2 separate regions of the Homo sapiens genome follow, and region 2 is linked to region 1. Evidence: promoter capture Hi-C in human tissues and cell types (Jung and others, 2019). All regions are on one chromosome and are shown on one strand. Each heading gives the region's core, a stretch centred on a gene start or on the middle of the fragment in contact. The rest is flanking DNA. Distances are from core to core; before and after follow the strand shown. Region 1 holds the start of TRAF1 (TNF receptor associated factor 1). Region 2 has its middle 6.8 kb from the start of CDK5RAP2.

Evidence for each region. Contacts are between HindIII fragments. The study calls those that stand out against the background at their distance.
Region 2: a contact is called between a fragment that was not itself captured here and the fragment with the promoter of TRAF1 in region 1, in 2 of the 25 tissues and cell types used here (dorsolateral prefrontal cortex and hippocampus).

The regions. Positions count from the first base shown.
Region 1 is chr9:120,924,606-120,928,727 of GRCh38, reverse strand. TRAF1 (TNF receptor associated factor 1) reads left to right here and starts at 1,932. Exons shown (of 8, transcript NM_005658.5): 1 at 1,932-2,178; 2 at 2,427-2,792. The coding sequence starts at 2,653. RefSeq lists enhancers at 1,654-1,973, 2,314-2,653, 3,114-3,183, 2,780-3,303. The HindIII fragment of the contact is 9,494 bases long and covers 1-4,122 here.
Region 2 is chr9:120,584,885-120,589,006 of GRCh38, reverse strand. No RefSeq gene overlaps it. Among named protein-coding and RNA genes, the nearest start is that of CDK5RAP2, 6.8 kb to the right of the region's middle. The HindIII fragment of the contact is 7,435 bases long and covers 1-4,122 here.

The DNA.
Region 1 (4,122 bases), core at 683-3,182:
AGAGCGGGGCGCCCAGCCTCATCATGGGGCGGCCCACGGAGACTTCCCGTGGGAGTGGGGTCTGGTGCAGGGGCGCCCCAAAGGACGAGTGGGAGATGGGGACACGCGGCGCAGAGAGACTCCTCGTGGATGGAGCCGATGGAGGCCCAGTGTAGAAGAGAAAGGGGTCAAGGAGACGGATAAGGAGCCACCAGAGACGCGGGGGGAATTCCCCGCAGAGGATGCGGGAAGCCGGGGAAAGGAAGGGATTCCGGAAGGAAGGGCTGAGAGCCGGGTCAGGTGCTGGCAGGAGGGCTGGTTGGATAGAAACTGGGGCGGGCCCAGGGCATTTGGCGTCCCCGACATGCGTATACACTTGGAGAGATGATTCCCTGGAGATCCAAGTGCCTGTATAGACAATCTTTTCTAGAAGTTCTACCGTTAGGTGAGGCGAGAGTAGATGTAGAAATTGGAGACGAGAATAAAGAGTGTTTTAAAAGCGTGCGTGGTTACAGGACTGGCTCTGGGTTCAGGGGTCCCCACTCACTAGCTGTGAGACCTTGAACAAGTCGCTTAGCCTCTCTGTGCCTCAGTTTTCTCATCTGTAAGGTGGGGATGATGATGGCAATACCTGCTTCACAGAGTGAAAATTAGATGAGATGATGTCTGTAAAATTACGTAAGACGGTACCCAAAAGTAGTACTATTTTTCCCTTTTCTTATTAGAGCAGGTTGCGCACGTTTTGATGTCCGTGGGAATGAGCAGGTAGAGAGGGTGGTATTGAGGCCGGAGGGGAGAGAAGGGACCCACAGATGGGGAGAGAAGTCTTGGGTGCCTGTTTTATCCCAAACCAGGGGAAGGAGGGAACAGGTAGGGCTGGCTGCAGGAAAGCTTGCAGGTATGGGGTACACAGTTAAAAGGGAGTGTCTTCTGATAGTCTTGATGCAGGCCTGGAGGTCGTTTGTTATGGGGGTGGAGGTCCTGATGTACATTGTGGCGGTAAGATGCCGTGCTGTCTTTGCCACCAGCCTGTGGCAGCCCTGGTGTTACACCAGGGCAGGTGGGCAGTTTAATGTATCTCAGGCCAGATGACCTGCCCTGCCCACCTGTTGAGGCTCCAGTAGATAGACGTGAAAGCACAGTATAAGCATAATGCACCACTTTAATCCTTTTCTCTGAGGAGCTGGAAGGCCTGTAGTCACCATCTGAGCCAAATGTCATTCAAGTACTTCACTTGGGTTACACACCACACTTTGACCCACTATCTCATTTAGTCATCACAACAAATGGGTGAAATAGGTATTATTGTCCCATTTTACAGATGCAGAATCTGAGTTTCAGGGAAGTTAAGGACTTTGTCCCAGGGCCCACAGTTAGTAAGCAGTGGACCCAGGATTTCAACTCAGCTCTGTCTGACCTCAAAACCCATGATCTGAAACCACTGTGAAAGTTTGCAAAACCTCTGTAGCAGCCAAGCAGGATGGAAAGATGTGTAGGGATTGTCTTCTCCATTTGATAGATGAGACAAGAGCTGGGTACTCTGATCTCCATCCCAAGCACACAGAGCTTGGGGCCCCACAGCCCTGGTGTGAATCCCACTCCACTACCAGAGGCTGTGTGCCTTTGGACCAGGCATCTTGCTTCTCTGACCCTATATACAGCTGCAGAAGAATTCCTTGCAGGTTGCTGTAAGGATTTGGAGGGAAACTGTTGCCCAGCACACAGTACACATTCTGGGAGCCATCGTTTCCCCAGTGCACTTTTCCTGCAAATGTGGATCTACATCCCACTTGGATGCTGAGACCAGCTGCTGTGATCTTGCATTTGTTTAGCGCTTTGTTCTCCTTGAGGCAGTAAAGTGGTGGCACCTGACCGGAGCATGTAGCCACCTATGACTTCCTGAGTGGGGTGGTGTGGGGAGGGCCCTGAGGAGTCTGTGGTCCTAGGCCTTGGATTTCATCAGGGCTTTCCTGCTCCTTCTGGTTGCCTCAGTCCCAGGCAAGATAGGGTCCCAGAATCTTACAGCCCAGAGGCCACCTGTTGCAACTTCTTTTTTACAGATGGAGTCATCAGAACCCACTGTGAGGAAGTGACTTCTCCTTGAGGTCACCCAGACACTCCAAACAGAGCAGAGCAAAAGCGCCTAGAACTTGAAATTTTGGACCTGTCTCCAACACCCTGGGGATTTCCACCAGGAAGGTGAGCACCCCCACTGAGAATTCCAGGCTGCTCAGAGGTGCCAGGGAACACAGACCAGGGACCAGCTGTGGCCCCCTCCTCCGATGTGCCCAGGGAAGTGGGGGAAGCCAGCGGCAGCCTGCGATTCTCAACCAGGGGAACTCTCACTGTGCTTTCTGAGAGTCTGTGACACGGGTCATTTTCTCTGACTTGCTCTCTTGCTTTTTCTCACTCTAAAAAAAAAAAAAAATGACTGGACACTCCTAAAGCCTTCAGTCACCATCCAGGGGATTTTTATCGCCACAAAGGGTAATTCCTGCTCCATCCCTGCTGTGACTCAGCTGTGACGTTGAACCACACAAGCCAGAGAGAAGAAGATAAAGTCATCAGAGCTCCTACTCACCAGAGAGTGAGGCCCAGGCCAGGACTCCACAAGGCTGGTCCCCTGCCCTGGAGCAACTTAAACAGGCCCTCTGGCCAGCCTGGAACCCTGAGATGGCCTCCAGCTCAGGCAGCAGTCCTCGCCCGGCCCCTGATGAGAATGAGTTTCCCTTTGGGTGCCCTCCCACCGTCTGCCAGGACCCAAAGGAGCCCAGGGCTCTCTGCTGTGCAGGCTGTCTCTCTGAGAACCCGAGGTGAGGTGATGGAGGAGCGGAGGGTGGGCAGAAAGTGGGTGCCAGGGAGGGACCCCTGATGGGAGGTGAGGGGCAGAGGAGCCTGTGACTTCAGGCGGTGACTTTTCTTCTCTGGGCCTCAGTTTCCACACCCTTTTCTCACACTCCCTGACACTGCCCCTCTGGCTGTGGTGGAAGGAGAGGAAGCCACAGAAAGGCATCAGCTCCCACAGGGGAAAGCCATCCACACCGAGGAGAGCCTCGAGGCTGTGAGGCCACTGTCTCACTGTGTGGTCTGGTGCTCTGCTAATGTCCCTAAGCCGCAGCTCGCTTGTCTGTAAAGCTGTTTTCTGTGTCATAGAATTGTTAATGAAGCCCAATGAATAATAATCACAAAAGTCCTTATAATAACAAATATAAACCTCTTGGTGAATGACAAACTGTTAGACGAATATCTCTCCTTCCACAGCATTGCTCATCACCTCAGACCGTTTGCTGGGAACCCTTTTGGAGGGGACAAAGAGATCGATATATATTTGTGTATTTAATGATACTTAAAATATTAACAACCCAGAAAGGCATGATATCAGTACTATTGTGGACATCCCTCTTTAAGCAATTATGCACCTACTGTGTGCCAAATGCTCTGCCCTTGGGTCCTCAGCACAACTTAGAGGGGTGGATACTATTATGATCCTATTTTACAAATGAGAACACTGAGGCCTAACAGATTAGGTCAGCTTTGGTCAGTTTCCTGGCAAATATGCCCTTAAACTATCTCATGTGATGACCTTTTGTTTGCGGTTTTACAGCTTAAGAAGGTGGCAAAGCTGAATCAGGCAAGTGAGAAGTTCAAACATGACGACAAAGGAGGAGGCTGTGAGAATAGCGAGGAGAGGCTGTGGCCGTGGAAAGGCCAGCCAGGAGGTGGAGGAGCAGAGGTTCACTGGTTTTACCATCAAGCGGATTGTCAGGGTTCAGCTCAGGCTCTGGTAGTGGGTCTCCTGGTTTCCCCTCTCCCTCCTTCCAAAACCTGGCAGAGGAGGGAGCTGATTGGAAGTTGGAGGGCTGAGGCCTGAGGCCTAAGTCCTGAAGAGCTTCTACTCAGCTCTGCTCCTGACTCACTCTACCTTGACCAATCCACATGCCCTCTGGGGCCTCATTCCCTCACTTGTAAAATAGACTATCTCGGTAGCGGTAGCAGGTCAGAGACACCAGGAGCTTTGTAAAAACACAGTTGCTGGCCAGGCGCAGTGGCTCATGCCTGTAATCCCAGCACTTTGGCAGGCCGAGGCAGGAGGATCACTTGAGGTCAGGAGTTTGAGACCAGCCTGGCCAACAAGGTGAAACC
Region 2 (4,122 bases), core at 824-3,323, 340 kb after region 1:
CCATGTGGCTATTTAAATTTTAATTAAGATAAACATTTTAAAAATTCAATTCCTCAGTCACATAGCTACATTTCCAGGGTTCAATAGCCACAAGTGGCTAGTGGCTATTGTATTGGACAGTGCAGATTTAGAATACTGTATTTCCATCATCCAAGAAAGTTCTGTTGGAGAGTCGTGTTCTACCTCTCTCTCTCTCTTTTTTTTTTTTTTTTGAGACTGGATCTTGCTCTGTTGCCCAGGCTGGAGTGCAGTGGTGTGATCTCAGCTCACTGCAACCTCCACCTCCTGGGTTCAAGAAGTGATTCTCCTATCTCAGCCTCTGGAGTAGCTGGGATTACAGGCACACAACACCATGCCCAGCTAATTTTTGTATTTTTAGTAGAGATGGGGTAACACCACTTTGGCCAGGCTGGTCTTGAACTTCTGGCCTCAAGTGATCTGCCCGCCTCAGCCTCCCAAAGTGCTAGGGTTATAGGCATGAGCCACCGCGTCCAGTCTGCTATTCTGTATCTCTTGATTCTGATGATGGCTACATGAGTATGTAAGTTTGCCAAAACTCACCAGAATGTATACTTGAAGTGGGTACACCTATTTTGTGTAAATTCTATCTCAATAAAGTTGATTTAAAATATTAACATTGGCCAGGTGTGGTGGCTCATGCCTGTAATTCCAGCACTTTGGGAGGCCGAGGTGGGCAGAACACCTGGGTTGGGAGTTCAGGACCAGTCTGGCCACTACAGTGAAACGCTGTTTCTACTAAAAATACAAAAATTAGCTGGGCATGGTGGCGCACACCTGTAGTCCCAGCTACTTGGGAGACTGAAGCAGGAGAATGGCTTGAACCTGGGAGGCGGAGGTTGCAGTGAGCCGAGATTGTGCCACTGCACTCCAGCCTGGGCTGCAAGAGTGAAATTCTGTCTCAAAAAATAAAATGAAATGAAAATAAAATATTGACATTGCCTCTCCTGGCCTCAAGGAGTTCACACTGTGGCAGCCAAGTTAACAATTACAGAGCTAAATGTCACAATGATGATAAGCTCAGGGTATGCTGGGAGTCCAGAGGTGGGACATCTACCCAAACTGGGTCCCAAAACTTTCTCTTAAACTGTTGTTCAGAGGACCCTAGGACTCACAGAGAAGGGGAAGGAAGCATATTTTAGACTCTAAGAGTCACTGGCATGTATAGTTCTTTTGTGTGAATTAGAAAAAAGGCATCCCTGCTTTGGGATAAACTCACAGCTTGTCCAGCACAGCACGGACTCAATTTCAGCCTCCACTCCTCCTTTGGGTGGATGTGCTTGTGTAGGGCACAGCCTGTGCAGTGTACTTGGTGGCATGTCACACACACAGGAGGACACATGCAAGGAAAAGGGGACTGTCATTTATCCCTTTAAGGAAGGAGGCACTGCAGCTGCCACAAGTGTTGTGTTCATCCTTCTCTAGTTCCTGCTCTGTGCTCTCAATGTGAATTCACTGCATTTAAGGGAGATGCAAAGTTTACCGTCCCCTCCTGCAAGTCACAAGACATTAAGTACTTCTTTTAATCTGCAAAATGTCCAGACAGTTGATTAATTCAATTACCCTTCTCTGCTTAGAGCTATTGCTGCTTTACATATTCAATGTGCAGCTGGAGAGGGTGCTTGAAAGCACTCTCTGGCATCCTAGGATAATTTTTCCAGCAGCTTTTAGATCTCTGTTAGCCAGACCCTGGATTTAAGTGGGTGGGGATGTGGCCATCGTACTGAGGATGATCAATTTAGGTAGGAGATCTTGCCGTGGGACATATCTCTGGCTCCTGCAAGTTTCAAAAAGCTCAGGAACCACCTTTTGTGAATCAGGAAATGGAGGTCCAAGCTCCTCTCTGTCACTAGCTTGCTGTGTGACTTTGGGAAAATCGGTTCATGTCTCTGAGTCTCAATTTCCTTATCAGTAGAAGAATGATAACAAACTTGTCTTAGAGCTGTTGTGAGGTAGAATCAAGGGATGAAGAATGTGACATGGGCTTTTTAAATAGTTGCATCAAGTAGGGATTTTATTTGATCTCTGTTGGCCTTCAAACATGAGGAGCTAGTGCACATAATAGTATGTACAGGTTTTTATCCTGCTTTTGCAGGGCATAGGTCTTACTTGTAAAACAGCCTTCCCCAACTGCTCAATCAGAATGACTCAATCCCTTCTGTGATCCTAGAATCTCACTGTTCTTTTTCTTTTTCTTTTCTTTTTTTTTTTTTTTTTGAGATGGAGTCCTGCTCTGTCACGAGGCTGGAGTGCAGTGGCACGATCTCTGCTCACTGCAACCTCCACCTCCCAGGTTCAAGCGATTCCCCTACCTCAGCCTCCTGAGTAGCTGGGACTACAGGTGCGTGTCACCACACCCGGCTAATTTTTTTTGTATTTTAGTAGAGACGGGGTTTCTCCACGTTGGCCAGGATGGTCTCGATCTCCTGACCTTGTGATCCACCTGCCTCGGCCTCCCAAAGTGCTGGGATTACAGGCGTGAGCCACCGTGCCCAGCCCTGTTATCTTTCTTATACCAACAAAGTATTTAAAATGTTTTGCTTTGTTTCATAATTATGTATGTGCATTTTCACCAGCTTCTTGAGGACAGGTATTCAGTGAAAGGCACTACGGCCTAGTGGTTAAGAACATGGGCTTTTGGATGAATTCTGGGTTCAAATCCTGTCTTCACAACTGAGCTACTTGGATGGTGTCGGGGCAAAACTTTCCTTTAACCTGTCTGGTTCAGTACCTGAGGGTTCTGTGTATTAAATGGACAAAAGACAGATTAACAGGAGAAAAGGCATATTAATTTTTATTAATAGTTATGTGCACAAGAGTTCATAGAAAAGAAGTGAAACTCAAATAAGTGGTTAGGCTCAAGGGCTTTTATCCCATTATAGCAAAAGAAGGGAGTGTTGAGCTTCAAGGCTGATAAATCATGGGGAAGTGATTAGGGAATATATGGGGGAAACTAATGGTAGACAGGGAGGAGGCACATGTTCACAAAGGGGAATTTATGTCCTGCTTCAGGGTAGAAAAGGAGAAGGCAGAAAATTCTTTCTGCATCTGTTGATTCTCAATTGTCTTCAGCTCAAAATAATCCTTATGCAAAAGGGGCATATGTTGGGATGGCATATTTTGATCCCCTTCAATGGCCAGGCAACTCTTTCTTCTCTTTGTACTTCAGTTTTGTCAACCATAAAGTTGGAGCATAATCAGTTCTTGTTTCATAAGGTTATTGTGAGGATTGAATGCAAAGTATATAACACAGTACCTGGCACATAGAAAGAGCTTAATATATGGTAGCTAATTTTAGTTATTCATGGAACATCACAGCTGAAGGGGCCTCAATGTTGTAGTGTAATGCACTCAGCATACAGATAAGAAAATAGGCCCAGAGAGTTGAACTGGGAGATTGGTATTAACCTTATATTATGTTGATGTGTGTTACCATCCCTAGTCCAATAATCTATATTCTATTCCTTTGATATTTGGTATTTCTCATTCCACTTTCCATCTTGAGAAAAAGTCAGGACTTGGAGTTAATTTGACAAACTGGCATTGAGCATCTACTATGTGCACAGCCTGGGGCTACATGTTGGGCCCAGAAGGCATCACTGACTTGATCACCCTGCTCTTCAGAGAAGGCAGTGGGTACTAATTGAGAACTGGTCCTAATAAGGACTGCTGGTGTTGAGGGTTGGTTGGTAAGAGGTCTTGGGAGCAAGGGGGCAGATGTGTCTGCCAGAAATACTGCCAACTGTGGGACCAGACAGGCATGGGTTTGAATCTCAGCACGGCCATGGTTTAGAAGGGCAGCTTGGGCCAGGCGCAGTGGCTCATGCCTGTAATCCCAGCACTTTGGGAGGCCGAGGTGGGCAGATCACGAGGTCAAGAGATTGAGACCATCCTGGCCAACATGGTGAAACCCTGTCTCTACTAAAATTACAAAAATTAGCTGGGTGTGGTTGTGTGCGCCTGTAGTCCCAGCTACTTGGGAGGCTGAGGCAGGAGAATTGCTTGAACCCGGGAGGCGGAGGTTGCAGTGCCACTGGACCCCAGCCTGGGTGACAGAGTGAGACTGTGTCTCAAAAACAAAAACAAAAACAAAAACAAAGCGTG